Linked DNA regions of Homo sapiens: regions 1 and 2 are each linked to region 3. Evidence: promoter capture Hi-C in 16 types of primary human blood cells and fetal thymus (Javierre and others, 2016). All regions are on one chromosome and are shown on one strand. The core of a region is centred on a gene start or on the middle of the fragment in contact, and the rest is flanking DNA. Distances in the headings are between cores, read along the strand shown.

Region 1 (4,532 bases), core at 613-3,112, 220 kb after region 3:
AGGAGCTATATTCATGAAAAATAATGTAATGCTATAAAAGAACAGAGAATAAAAAGAGCACTGAGAAATAAAGGTATAATACAGAAATTAAGTAATTAATCTTTATTAAGTATAATAAAGAAATTAAGTAATTGTCCAATTAAGTTGAGAAAGTCACAGAGAAAGTAGAATAAAAATATGAAGACATAGAAAATAGGACAGACAGGTAAGAAAAAACATCAGCCAAGAAGGTCCACGATCTAAATAACAAATTTCAAAAAAGAAGAGATACGATGGGGGGTGGGGGGGAAGAAATGATCAAATAAATAATACCAGAAGAATTCCCATAACTGAAGAACATGTGTTTCAGGATTGAAAAACTGGTCGATAGGAATGAGAAAAGACCCATAACCAAGACACTCAATAGTGTTTTAGAACACTGGGAATAGGCCGGACGCGGTGGCTCACACCCGTCATCCCAGCACTTTGGGAGGCCGAGGAGGGCGGATCACGAGGTCAGGAGATCGAGACCATCCTGGCTAACACGGTGAAACCCCGTCTCTACTAAAAATACAAAAAAAAAAAAAATTAGCTGGGCGTGGTGGCGGGCGCCTGTAGTCCCAGCTACTCCGGAGGCTGAGGTAGGAGAACGGTGTGAACCCGGGAGGTGGAGCTTGCAGTGAGCTGAGGTGGCACCACTGCACTCCAGCCTGGGCAACAGAGCGAGACTCCGTCTCAAAAAAAACAAAACAAAACAAAACAAAACAAAAAACACTGGAAACAGAGAAAAGATCCTAAAGCTTCTTGAGACAAAACAAAACAGAAAGGAAAGCAGGTTACATATCAAGAAATTTAGTGACCTGTGAAGGAGAAGGAAATATAACGACATAGTTTCTTAACAATTCTGGAAGCTAAAATATTGCGGAGCAAGCCCTCCAATATTCCGAGTGAAAGTTATTTTCAACCTAGAACTGTGCTCAGCCAGAATAAAAACATTTCCAGACATGCACACTCTGTGGGAAAAAAGACCTGGCAGCAACCTCTCTCAAGGAACTATTGGCGGATATGTTCCACAACATGAGGGTATATAATCAAGAAAAAGGAACACCCAGATTGAGGAAATAGAGAACTCATCTCAGGAATGAGGAATAAGACCTTCCCAGGATGGATGTGAAGGAGGTCCAAGGACATCAGTTGAGAGTTGTGCCTTCCAAATTTTATGTGCATAGGAATTACCAGGGGATCTTGTTGCGATGCAGATATTGATTCAGTAAGTCTGGGTAAGGCCTGAGATTTGGCGTTTTAACAAATTCCCTCAGGATGCTGAGGCCGCTGGTTCAGGGACTACACTTTGCATATCAGCGGTGTAGAGGAAAAACAGTCCAAATTGTACCAAGAAGACGACGGTACAGAGACAGAGACCGACAGACATTTATTTCCTTCTTGGAGACAATCGGGAATGAATTAGTGTAAGCCAATAACCGTACAGTAGGGTAGGGAGAGGGATGGAGGAGAAGGAGAAAAGGATTAATATTTTAAGTAAATATAAATGAAGAAAAAACAAGGAAGGGGCTGTATTGAGAACAGCCGCATACATCCAACCTTGCCTCTAGTAGACACCTGAAGAGGAAGGTTGGACCACTCTAAGGATTCAGATTCAGTAGTCTGGGGGGTCTCTGGAGCGACCCTGGAAGATGCTCCAGAAAGCCTAGATGCAGACTACGCTGACAGAAGACGCTCCTTGCACGCGCCCAGCACGGGAGTGGGCGGGGCCTCAACGCGTCCGGTGCCAGGTCTCAGGGGGCGGGGAATGGGCGGAGCCTTTCCCCTAAATTGGCGAGCCCGGGCGGCGCTGAAATTCGGCTTGGAGGCTTTTGAACCCGGAAGCGGTTGGCGGCGCTCGGAAGCGGCCGCGGATCGGGGAATTCTGCTGGCGCTGCAGCTGCAGAATGGTCGGCGGTGGCGGGAAGCGCAGGCCCGGCGGAGAGGGGCCGCAGGTACTGCCGGAAAGGCTGTGCGGGCTACGCGGGGCGCTTTGGGTGACAGCCAGGGCACCAGGAGGCAGCGCTTTTCATTCATCCAGTGACTATTAAGCTTGCTGTGTGTCCAGGGGCTGCGGTTTGCTGCGGGGATCCTGCCCAGGGCCGCTGTTTCGCGCTCTGCAGGGGGTTGGACCAGGAAAGTAGCTCCTCTGCATCTTCTGCCCAGCTCCTCTTGGAGCATTTCCTGGGGAAACGGATTAAGCCAACCAATGGTTCATTCGCCCAGCCAGATTGATTGGGAACCGATTACATACCTGACATTCTGTGGGGCGCTGCGGATTTGGGGGTCAACCTGCTTGCTCCTGCTGCTTGTTGAGCCCTCGGCCTGGGGAGGAGGGGCACAAGCAAATATGCATTCTACTGTGACTTTTTTGTTTGGGATTATAACGCTGGTGTGTAGAAAGTGCTATGGAAACACTGAAGGAGGATTTAACAAGTCCCAGGGGGTGTTAAAGAAGACTTTTAAGACAACTCTTTGAAAATTGGTTTTGAAGGCAGAGAAGTAAGATTCTGAGACATAAAACTGTAGGAGATGTTTGGGCGTAGCGGAGCGTTCGGCTTGGCTGGAGCCAGGGAAATGGGAAAATAAGAGGGACCTGATCATAAAAGCACTACTGAGAGGGGAGGAGGAGAGAGTGTGTGCATTCTCATACTTTACTACGATTTCGGAAGTTCTGTAACCACTACAGTAGCAATAAGGGGAATCAGGAAAGAAGTGCCATTGTGATAACTAAAGTTTTAGAAAAGTTACTCTGGTAGTGTCATAAATCGGACAGGGTGAGACATTCTTAGAGGGCTTAACTAACTGTTAAAGGGCCATCGGTATAGGCATCCTTCATATTGGGTCATGCATTCTAGGAAGACCAGGGTAAAGAAGAAGTGTAGCCTCTGAAGGGGACAGCTGTTCTAAATCCTAGTTGTTAGGGCTATGGAGATGCTGAACTAGTGTGTGAGTAAAGGCACAGCTGAAAAAATTCTCTTTTTGAAGGTGCAGTGAAGAACTGCTTTGGTGGAGTGATGTGCTTAACTAGAAATACAATAACAGAAATGAAGATGAGTCTGTAGAGACTATAACCGTAATGGCCAGCATTTGTATATTATGTGCTAGGACCGTTCTGTGTATTTTTACATATAATAACATTCCTTGTAACAACCCCGATATAGGCACTGTATGCCCTTTTTGCAGATGAGAAAACAAAGCACAGAGAGGTTAAGTAACTTGCCTAAGGTTGGAAATCAGTAGAGTCAGGAGTCAACCCAGGCAACCTAACTATTATGCAAAACTGCCTTTCAGCAAGGCAGATTAAGCCTTTTCTAACATCTTAAGTTGGAGCCAGTCTTTGAACGTCTGAACAAAGACAGTTATGAAAACAGAAGATAGGATAGCTCAGGACTTCATATGTTCCTACTGTTCTATATTTGATGTTGGAGAAGCAGCATAGTGAAGTGGTTGAGGATCTGCTGTGGACCCAGATTTAAACCTGAGTTTAAATCCCTTCTCTTCCACTTCCTAGTTAGGGACGTAGGGAGGTTAACCTCAGTTTCCTCAGCTGTACGATGAGGTTAATGGTATCTAGTGCATGAGACAGTTGAGGACTAAATGAGTTAATCCACAGAAGGTGCTTAGAACAGTGAAACAGCACAAAATAAGTTCTCAGTAAGTATCACTTAACTACTTGTTTTTACTATTATATTATCTTTACTATTACTATTTGCTATTATTGATACTCACTTTTGGATTCATTGTTCAACAGGCTTTTTGTTGAACGTAATTTTTTTTATAAATCAGACACATTATAATCCTTGGCATAATAAACTGTTACCATATTCATGATCGTCTTTGACCTTATTTATGTTAAGTAATGTAACAAACACCAGTGAACCCATTGCCCAATCCCAAAGCTGAAACAGACAATAGCTCTACATCTACACGTGTTCCTCTCCTATCCGTTCAGCCTTCTTCCTGTCAATTATTTTCAGTGTAGCTATCCTGAATTTTGTTTTCCCTTGCCTTTTAAAAATAGGCTTATCTCCCATGAGTGTATACCTAAACAATATTTATTCTTAGTTTTTGAACTTCATAAAAAGGCTATCATGCTGCATATAATCAAGAGCTTTTTTCCTCATTAAAAATATTGAATATAGGTTGGTCCATATTGTGTAGCCATAGAGTAACCATTCGGTAAATGACGGAGATTGGTTCCAGGACCTTAGGAGAGCATACACTAATTTTTAAAGCAACAAGAAAACAAACCATCTCATTAGCCAAAGATAACACAGTTAATAGTCTAGTATACAGTAACAAATTTCCATATATCCCCAAATCTGAGCATACCCAAGTTCCAAAGTTGGTCCTGTGGAACCCGAGTATACGAAAAGTTGGCCCTCTCTATAAGTGGATTTCACATCCCAAGAATACTGTATTTTTTTATTTGCATTTGGTTGGAAAAAAAATTCATGTATAAGTGGGTCCACAAAATTCAAACCCTTGTTGCTCAAGGGTCAACTGTA
Region 2 (4,569 bases), core at 1,806-4,305, 170 kb after region 3:
GCTGTTATAAGAGAAGTTGAAGGGAGCACATGAGGCATCTCATGTGAGAATGCCTCAAGAAGGTGCCATCGATGGGACAGACCCTGACCAGACACCAAATCTACTTGTGCCTTGGTCTTGGACCTCGCAGCCTCTAGAGCTGTGCAAAATAAACTTCTACTGTTTATAAATTACTCATTTTGTGGTATTTTGTTATAGCAGCCTGAAAGGACTGAGACAATTACTAAGTGGTTGGATGCATTCAATCATTTAATCCTGACAACAGACCTAGAAGGTGAATTGGTTCTATTATTATCCCCATTTATAGATGAGAAAACTAAGCACAGAGAAGCTAAATAATTTGCTGAAATTCACACAGCTAGCAAGTCTTCCGAGTGGTCCAGATGCAGGGCCTATCCTCTTAACCACTAAGCTCCATGTGATCAGTGAGGGGAGGAGAAGGGCTGGCAGACTCAGCAAATACAAATACAAGACATCCAGTTAAATTTGCATTTCAGATAAACAATGGATAATTTTAAATACAAGTATCTCCACTGTAACATTTGGAAAACACTTAGGCTGACAAAATTGTCTGTTTATCCAAAATTCAAGTTTGTTGGACAGCCTATATTTGTTTTTACTTTCTTTTTTTTTTTTTTTTTTGAGACAGGGTCTCACTCCATCACCCAGGCTGGAGTGCAGTGGTGCGATCTCCTCTCACTGCAACCTCTGCCTCCCGGGTTCAAGTGAATTCTCCCACCTCAGCCTCCCCAGTAGCTACAGGCACGGGCCACCATTCCAGACAGCCTGTATGTAAACTGGCAACCCTGTAGGGAAGGAATGCCTGAGATTCATGCCTATGCCTACTTCCAGAGAGCCTTCTCACTCCTGCTGCCATATTTTAATACACATTTCTAAAGTCAAATTCATGTCACATTCTGGCCCTGGTGCTGTACTTGGTCAACCACTGAAATTAAAAGGGCTAGCAAGATAAAATGTAGGAATACTAAGGCACTATGACTTCTAGTGCTTCTTAAAAACTCTCAAATTCTGTACCTGACTTACAAGGCAAATTTGAGTGCAGACCTGAGGACACATTACAAAGGGTTAAAGGATGAGAATTGGCTCATTTATTTTTATATTCAGAAATGTTGTTTGTTCATAAATACTACAATAATAAATATTAGCAATGTAACAATGTTTTTTCTTTTCTTTTCCTTTCCTTTTTTTTTTTGGAGACAGGGTTTCACTCTGTTGCCCAGACTGGACTGGAGTGCAGTGGTGTGATCATAGCTTACTGTAGCCTTGAACTCTTGGGCTCAAGTGATAATCCCACATCAGCCTCCCAAGTAGCTGGGACTGCAGGTGCGTGCCACCAAGCCTGGCTATTTTTAAAAACAATTATTTGTAGAGACAGGATGCTGCCGTGTTGCCCAGGCTGATCTTGAACTCCTGGGCTCAAGCAATTGGTTCCACCTTAGCCTCCCAAAGTGCTGGGATTATAAGCATGAGCCACTGCGCTGGGCCAGCAGGGTTTTCTAAGTACTTAAAGATCCCAGTTAGGAATAGGACTGAGGGTAGGGTAAGGAGAAAATGCAGAATGGCAATAGATAATCATTAGCAAGGGGATTCTTAACCCCCTAATTCCCCTATAACAAATGGGCCACAGTCCCACCATGAGCCAGGAAGATGACATTTATGTTTCTGCTCATAGGACATGTTTGAATATTTACTCAAAACACACTTAGGTTCTAGGACCACTATGGTAAACTGTTGGAATTTTTTAGAAGTCCTCTGTCTTAGAACATTTTGCTGGCTTCCCTTTTTACATTAAGTGATGTCTGTCATTCAGATAAGTTTGTCTGTATTCCCATAAGTCTTGACGTCACAGAAGTGAATCAGCAGGAAACCATCATCTTTAACACATTTCCTATTCACTGACAATCATCCTGGATATGGAGCCCAGTGTACAACGACAAAAGCTTTCTCTCCCTTCTTAGGACAAAACATTTTATGGGAAGAAGAGAATCTTGGCAGAATCCCACTGTTCAAAATGAAGATAACAATGTACAGATTTGGTCCATTGCAGGAAAAGAAGCATTTCACCCAGAGGCCTGATGCTTTAACCCACAGTCAGACTTGCCAGTTGAGGAGAATCACATTTAGTGAGCCTTCCTCTGCAGGGGGATTCAAATCCTGGCTCCCCACTTAATAGCTCTGTGATCTTCTATAAGTTATTTAACCCTTCTGTTTTTTCATCTCTAAAATAAAAACAGTAATAGAAGCTACCTTGCAGCTTTGGAAGGAATTAATGATCTAGTCCATGTACGGTGCTTTAAGCACAGTGCCTGGCCTGTATAAACACTCCATGAATGTCACTACTGTTATTACGATTGGTCATTTGACTCCCACCGATGTGCCCTCTCACTGGCCCCTTTGTAGAAAAACACACTCTGCCCTTGGGTCAGGTCCCTTTAGATAATTTAACTGCATTCATTCTCAGGGTGACCAGGAGGGTTGGCAAGGGTAGCTGTCATATAACTGGGTTCATGGTATGTAAATATGTCTATAATTAGACTGCAGTGTTCTTAAGAAAGGAGTTCTCAAGTCATAGTTTGTGTATATCTTTTTAAAAAATCTGATTTGCACACATATTTAAATATTTAAGACCATATAGACTATTGAAAGAAACAGTATTTTTTAAAGAAAAGCTTATTTGTTCATGAGGCGGTTTATTAGTAAGTATTTAGGAAATAGATTTAGTATGAAAGTAGTCTTCATCTCCTTGTCCCTTAATTAAATATTTACACTTTTCCAAACTAGTTAAATGAGACAAAATTAGATTTTAAGACAAAAACAACTCATTGCCTTTAATATCACTATTTAAAATGCTAATTACATTGCAGATAAAAAGAATTAAAACTTTTGTAACTTAAAAATAAATGTAATTCCAGAGTCAATATCATATAAATAGGTGCCCATCTGGCCAACCTCAGGATTGCCAAATTTCTTCTCCCTCAATTGTTTCCTTGTTAACAAGAGTTTAAACAGCTCCCTCTTGTGGTCTAAAAAGCCATTGGCAATCCAGAGTTAGGTCAGCTTCTTATCTGTCGTTTTATTCGCTGCACATTTATTTACTACATTATATATTGTGTATTTGCTACAGTAGTGGAGGAGAAGAACAGTAACAGAGGACAGGGATGAATGTTGTTGCCTATGGGGTTAATATGGACACAGTCAGCTCTAATGTTTCATTCAAAGTGTCACTCTGGGATGGTGTTTATGCTGCTTGTAATTCAGGGACGGTATTTCTTAAAATGAAAGAATGAGCTTTGGTCAGAGCAGCTTATTAAGTGAATGTTTGCCTGCCTTGATTGGTTGAGCTGCAAGATGCTCAGAAATCCTGATACCCAATCTACCTATTTTCAGCTGAAAAGCTTCAGATCCGAAAAGGTGTAAATGAAAAGTCCCCTTCATTGACATCTCATTTACATGTTCAGGTAAACTTTGTCATAGTTCCTGAGACTCTGCTTTAATTTGCTCATTTTCTGAGCAGCCATTACATACATGACACTGTGCTAGATGCTGCAGATACAACAGCAAACAAAAAGACCCGGCCCCACAGTGTCCACAGTCTAGCGGGAAGACAAGCATTAGACAGTTACTCTAACAGTTGTGTTGGTAAATGCAATAAATGTTGGTGTTAGGTGTGGCAATCACTGCCAGTGAAAATAACAGGAAGATTTAATGTAGACAAGAACATTGGAGGTGGTCTCTCTGAGAAATGACAGAGCAGGAATTTGCCAGGTCAAGGGAGAGTGGGAAACTAAGTAGAAAAAAAATCACATATACCAACGTTGAGGACAGGGAAAAGCTTGACTCTTGGGAGGAACTGGAAGAACAAAATGGAGCTGCAGAGGTGCCCAGAGAGGGCGGGGGACGGTGTCAGGCACAAGCCAGTTCACACAGGGCTTCACAGACCACGTGCAGGCCGAGGGAACTATCCTAAATGCACTGGGAACTCATGACATGTTTCAAGTATGTGAATAACCTGGTATACTCTGCTTTTTTGTAACTGTCCCGCCAGCTGCATGTGTAGACAGGAGGAGAGGGAAACAGGAATGGAAGTGAGGACATGGATCAAAAGACAAAGCAGCCTTCAAGCAGGAAGTACTGCCAGTGGAAGGAGTGAGACTTTAGATAGATTTGAAGATGACATTGACAGGATTTGGTCATGAGATAAAAGAAGGGGTGAGGGAAAAGGAGGTTTAAAGATGAATTCCAACACAGCAAAGACCATGAACTATCTTTGACGACAGACAAAAGAATATGGATCAATCTCACAACTGATGTTTAATTAAGAAGCCAGGCAAGACCAGGAGTGGTGGCTCACATCTGTAATCCAAGCACTTTGGGAGGCAAGGCAGGCAGATCACTTGAGCTCAGGAGTTCAAGACCAGCCTGGGAAACATGGCAAAACCCCATCTCTACAAAAAACACAGAAGATGAGTCGGGCATGGTGGTGCACACCTGTAATCCCAGCTACTCAGGAGGCTGAGGCGGGAGGATCGCTTGAGCCCAGGAGGCTGA
Region 3 (4,654 bases), core at 75-2,574:
ATGCCTCCCTGTCTTGGTCTTCTTATGGGGAAAGGCTGGACCAGATCCCTGGCTTTGTCCTCAGCCTCCAGGGGGTAATGAATTCCTTTGTTTTCCTTCTGTCTTAAAGTTAGCCAGATACTCACAGATAGGCCAGTGCTTAAATTTACACAGGCAATTGCTGATATCCTCCAGGAAATATTGGCTTTTACTGGTTCTCATATTTCTGCCACAGTTATCTCTGGTCACCTCCAGACATTCTTGGTCACCATATGCACCCCCTAACACACATAAAAAATGTCCAAACATCCGTTTTCAATGCTGTGAGTTAATGTTTCCACATGTTTTATAGGGGGCTTTGAAGGATAAGCCAGTGTATCTCCTTAATTCCACCTCTCTTTCCAAACTTCAAGGTGATCAGGCCTAATTTATCTCCACTCACCTGACTCCTTCTTATTGTCCGGATTGCTGGACCTCATAGCTCATTTTAACTTTCCCCTTTCTGAGCCTCCACTGACCTGCACCCCGCTGCTGTCACCACCATGAGAACACTGCCTTTGTTCACCCTTGTTCTTCAGGACAAGTAAACTCATCTCAGAGGCCTCAAGCTATTGGGCCCTGAACTGCTTCCCTATGTGACAGACTGCTTACACACCCATGTGCCCCCTTCCCACCACACCTGCACGTGTTCATGTGTGCACGTGCACACACTTCACACACTTTCAACCCAGCACTTCGCTGGCAGCCAGAGGCAGGTAAGGAGGAGAAAAAAGTGCTAACAGGTTTGTGATTCATTATGATTATTCTCGGAAACAGTCACTATGTCAAGAGGGCTGATCTTACAATGGCAGAACCACATCAGCCTATGACACACATGAAATCTCCCTATCCCGTCTCACGTCCTGCATGGCACAGCAAGTGGACAGAAACACCCTCTCAACCAAAGACAGTTCTTTGTCTTGGTTCTGACATTCCTCTCCTCTGCTTAAGTTTAATGACATTCTAGAGGCAGTAGTGAGGGTGGGATTCAGAGCCAGATTCAAAACTTATTTCTGCTAGGGGCCATCTGCCGCCACTCTGTCACACTCTCCTAAATGGCTGAACTCTATAATCGCTGCACCAGGAGTCTGAGAGGGGCCTTGGATCCCTGAGCTCCTGGCTGACCTGGCATCTGGCAGTGTGCGTGGCTCAGTGGCTGCTTTCTTATGTAACATCAGCCCCGCCCAACCTCGCTGTAAATCCTCTTTCCCAGCATTTGCAGGGTCACAAGAGTCTGGACTCTAGGTATTATTTAACTAAATGGTAGAAATCCTTTTGAACTCTCTGTGTAAATCACTTCTTTCTACTTACTTGCTGTGCTTCTCTGAGTGCCTCGTGGCCTCTTTATCACCACCTGTTGAAGGAAATGTTAGATCCAGATATGGATGGAAGGTAGGCTCAGTTGTTTTTTACTTTTATGAGAATATTGTGCAAATAAAATCTTCCTTGTTCTTACTAAATACTCAGGAATTTAATTTCACCAATTATGAAAGTGCTTACTTTGTAATCTGTTCTTAAACTGAATGGGAACAAATCCTATTGTGGTATGGAGTTACATTCTCTTCTTACCCGGTAAGCAATCAGTCTGTAGAAATGAATAGGACATATTTACCCTGATCAGTTTCTCTGATCTAATAACCCTGGGTCTATTTCTACTTCATACTGTGTATTAAATTTAAGACAAATAGCTGGAAAAATGTGTAAGGATAAGAAAATGTGGACAGTGATTCCAAATATTTCTCATAATTCCCCCATGCGCGCCTGTGGGCTGTGTTGTTTTTCTGCAGACCAGCTGATTAGGGATTCCCGAAGTTCCACAAGATCTTCTTTATGTTAATTGGTAACTAGGTAATTGCGTGTCTCATCAGGATTCCTACAAGTGAAGAGCAGTGCACTAATTCTGATGAGTAGAAAAGTTGGCCAGGAAAAAAATAGATGTTTGTTTTTATAAAAATATCCCTCATCTTGATATTGGTACATCCTGACTCATCAGAAAGTGATGCTTCTCAACGAAGCAAAGCAATCATTCTTTTGTAAAGTTCAAGTAATAATCTTCAGATGAAAACCAAAAAATGCTTATAAATTTGGTGAATAATCCTGAAGCACTTATGTTATTAAAAGTGTCTTTCTGATTAAGACTATCTCTGAAACAGAAAACTAAGATATCCTATTTTGTATCTGACATAACTCTAAATTCATCACTCCTTAAAGAAGTCTTCCTCATGACTGATCAGCTGAATCAAATAATTTTCCTTTTTTCTTTATTACATTTTAATTAATCAGCTGATAAGGTTTGGACACCCAGAAGAAGCAGAAAGCCAGTCACTTTGCAGTAATTCAATTTTCTTTATTGGGGTTGCAATGGTCAAGGAAATAACATGCTCCAAAGATAACACAAAAGTGAACAAAAATGGTTCCTGTCCTGAAGAACTTCACCTTTTTGGAGACTGCATCAGATATGCAGTGAATAACTATTATAAATAGAAGAAAGTAGTAAATACCAGTAATAAATGCCTTCATTGATAAAGAGATAAAATCTTAGTGAAATTCAAGGGAGGGCATAGCATACTTCTGACTTGGAGGAATCAGGAGAACCTTGTGAAGAAAAAGATAATTTCAGATAATCTGTGAATGGTAGATAAGATTTGAACAGATAAATGTAAGGAAGAAAGACTTTCCAAGAAAGAGACTCAATGTCAAATAAGAGGGCATGGTCATAAGGGCAAGGCTGCACTTGACTGGACTCTGGAATATGATGCAGGTGGCATGAGGAAGAAGGTGGGCATCATCAGCTGCAGCTGACTCAGGGACCTTGAATGACCATGTGCAAGCTCTGGCCCTACCACTCGGACAGTGTGGACTCACTAAGAAGTGAGTGGGCCTGGCAAACCCCAGCTTTAGAACGATGAATGGAGAAAAAGTGGAGGCAAGAGGGCACTTCAGGAGGCTGCTGATGAGGTCTGACCTAGGTTAGTGGCAGTGAGGGTGGTTCACAAGGAAGGATTGTAAGAGACATTTCTAAGATGGCATCATCAGGGACCCTGCAACAGATGGTTTCCGGCACAAGAGAGAGGGAGGAGCCAGCCAGGTACAGTGGCTCATGCCTGTAATCCCAGCACTTTGGGAGAACGAAGTGGGTGGATCACAAGGTCAGGAGTTCGAGACCAGCCTGACCAGCATGGTGAAACCCCGTTTCTACTAAAAATACAAGAATTAGCTGGTCGTGGTGGCACGCACCTGTAATCCCAGCTACTCAGGAGGCGGAGGCAGGAGAATCACTTGAACCCAGGAGGCAGAGGTTGCAGTGAGCCAAGATCACGCCATTGCACTCCAGCCTGGGCGAAAGAGCAAGACTCCATCTCAAAAAAAAAAAAAAAAAGAGAGAGGGAGGAGCCAAAAATATATCAGAGATTTTAAGTGTGGATGACTAAGAGAATGATAGCACCAATAGCAGAAATAGGGAGGAGAACATAAAGGAAAGAGAATGTTTGGAACAATTATAAGTTATTCCTGTGATTTTAAAAAATCCATTTTAGCTACTTAAGAGTGACGTAGATGTATATATAAACATGGGATTTGACAGAAATATTTTCTTTCTCCCAGTACGTTTGGGATTATTAAATATCTTCTTGTCCTAGGATTTCCTCACATGGCAGGACTTTCAAAGCCTGCTGAAATAGAAAAATATGCAATGGCATTTTGTATAGTGAAAATACAATACAAAAACACTGAGTTTTCTAGCACTTAAAAATAGACTCAATAATTAGTCTTCTGTTGGAAATGGAGGCTCAACATCTTGATAACTTGACATAGTAATTACTAGAAAGTCTCATTGTTGTTCAGAAGTCCCCAAACCAGTGAAGAGAGGGGAATTAGAAAGACAGGTGGAGCAAACAAGGAGAAATGAAATGGTTTAGGATGCTTTGAGCTTAGCTGCCAGTAGGAGAAAACCCAACTCAAATGACTTAAACAATATTAGGATTTTTTTTCCTTCAATCTCACGTAACAAGAACTCTGGAGGTAAAGAGGTTTCCAGATTGGTGAACTTATCAGCACAATTAAGTACCAAGGTTTCCTCCAGCCTTCACAGTCTCATTTTCTCCTTGGTCTTTCAACTATGTTCCCCCATGGTGTCTAGATGGTAAAAGCACCTACAGGTGTTGTCTGATCACACCTGCCATTTGGAAATGAAAACAGAAAAGGACTATTTTTGCTTCTACTTGTTTGTTTGTCTCATTTTGTTTTAAGGAAGGGAAATTTTTCTCATAAATGTGCTAGGCAGACTTCCCCTCCCATCTCATTGATAAGCACTGAGTGAAATGCTCATCCCTAAGTCAGTCAATGGCTTACACCAATCATAGTAAATACCCTGTGGTTAGCGCCAATCTTCCCTGAAATCAATAGCAACTAAAAGGGGCAGGCTAAGTGCTCTGGCTCACTCCTGTAATCCCAGCACTTTGGGAGGCAGGTAGATCTCTTGAGGCCAGGAGTTTGAGACCAGCTGGGGCAACATAGCAAGACCCCCATCTCTACAGAAAACGCAAAATTTAGCTGGGCATGGTGGCATGTGCCTGTAGTCCCAGCTACTTGGCAGCTGAAATGGGAGGATCGCTTGAGCCCAGGAGGTCGAGGCTGT

What was found. The method cuts DNA at HindIII sites, captures the fragments that hold promoters and counts their contacts. A CHiCAGO score of 5 or more calls a contact.
Region 1: the fragment with the promoter of HPF1 here is called in contact with the fragment with the promoter of LINC02275 in region 3 in 2 of 17 cell types (megakaryocytes and total B cells); the score reaches 6.6 in megakaryocytes.
Region 2: a fragment that was not itself captured here is called in contact with the fragment with the promoter of LINC02275 in region 3 in 2 of 17 cell types (M2 macrophages and megakaryocytes); the score reaches 5.6 in M2 macrophages.

Annotation. Positions count from the first base shown.
Region 1 is chr4:169,755,274-169,759,805 of GRCh38, reverse strand. HPF1 (histone PARylation factor 1) reads left to right here and starts at 1,862. Exons shown (of 8, transcript NM_017867.3): 1 at 1,862-1,976. The coding sequence starts at 1,929. LOC107986240 (a long non-coding RNA gene) reads right to left here and starts at 1,743. Exons shown (of 3, transcript XR_001741529.2): 1 at 1,582-1,743. RefSeq lists an enhancer at 1,945-2,014. The HindIII fragment of the contact is 1,294 bases long and covers 782-2,075 here.
Region 2 is chr4:169,808,991-169,813,559 of GRCh38, reverse strand. No RefSeq gene overlaps it. Among named protein-coding and RNA genes, the nearest start is that of HPF1, 53 kb to the right of the region's middle. The HindIII fragment of the contact is 726 bases long and covers 2,693-3,418 here.
Region 3 is chr4:169,972,572-169,977,225 of GRCh38, reverse strand. LINC02275 (long intergenic non-protein coding RNA 2275) reads left to right here and starts at 1,324. Exons shown (of 5, transcript NR_037878.1): 1 at 1,324-1,410. RefSeq lists an enhancer at 577-1,320. The HindIII fragment of the contact is 11,870 bases long and covers 1-4,654 here.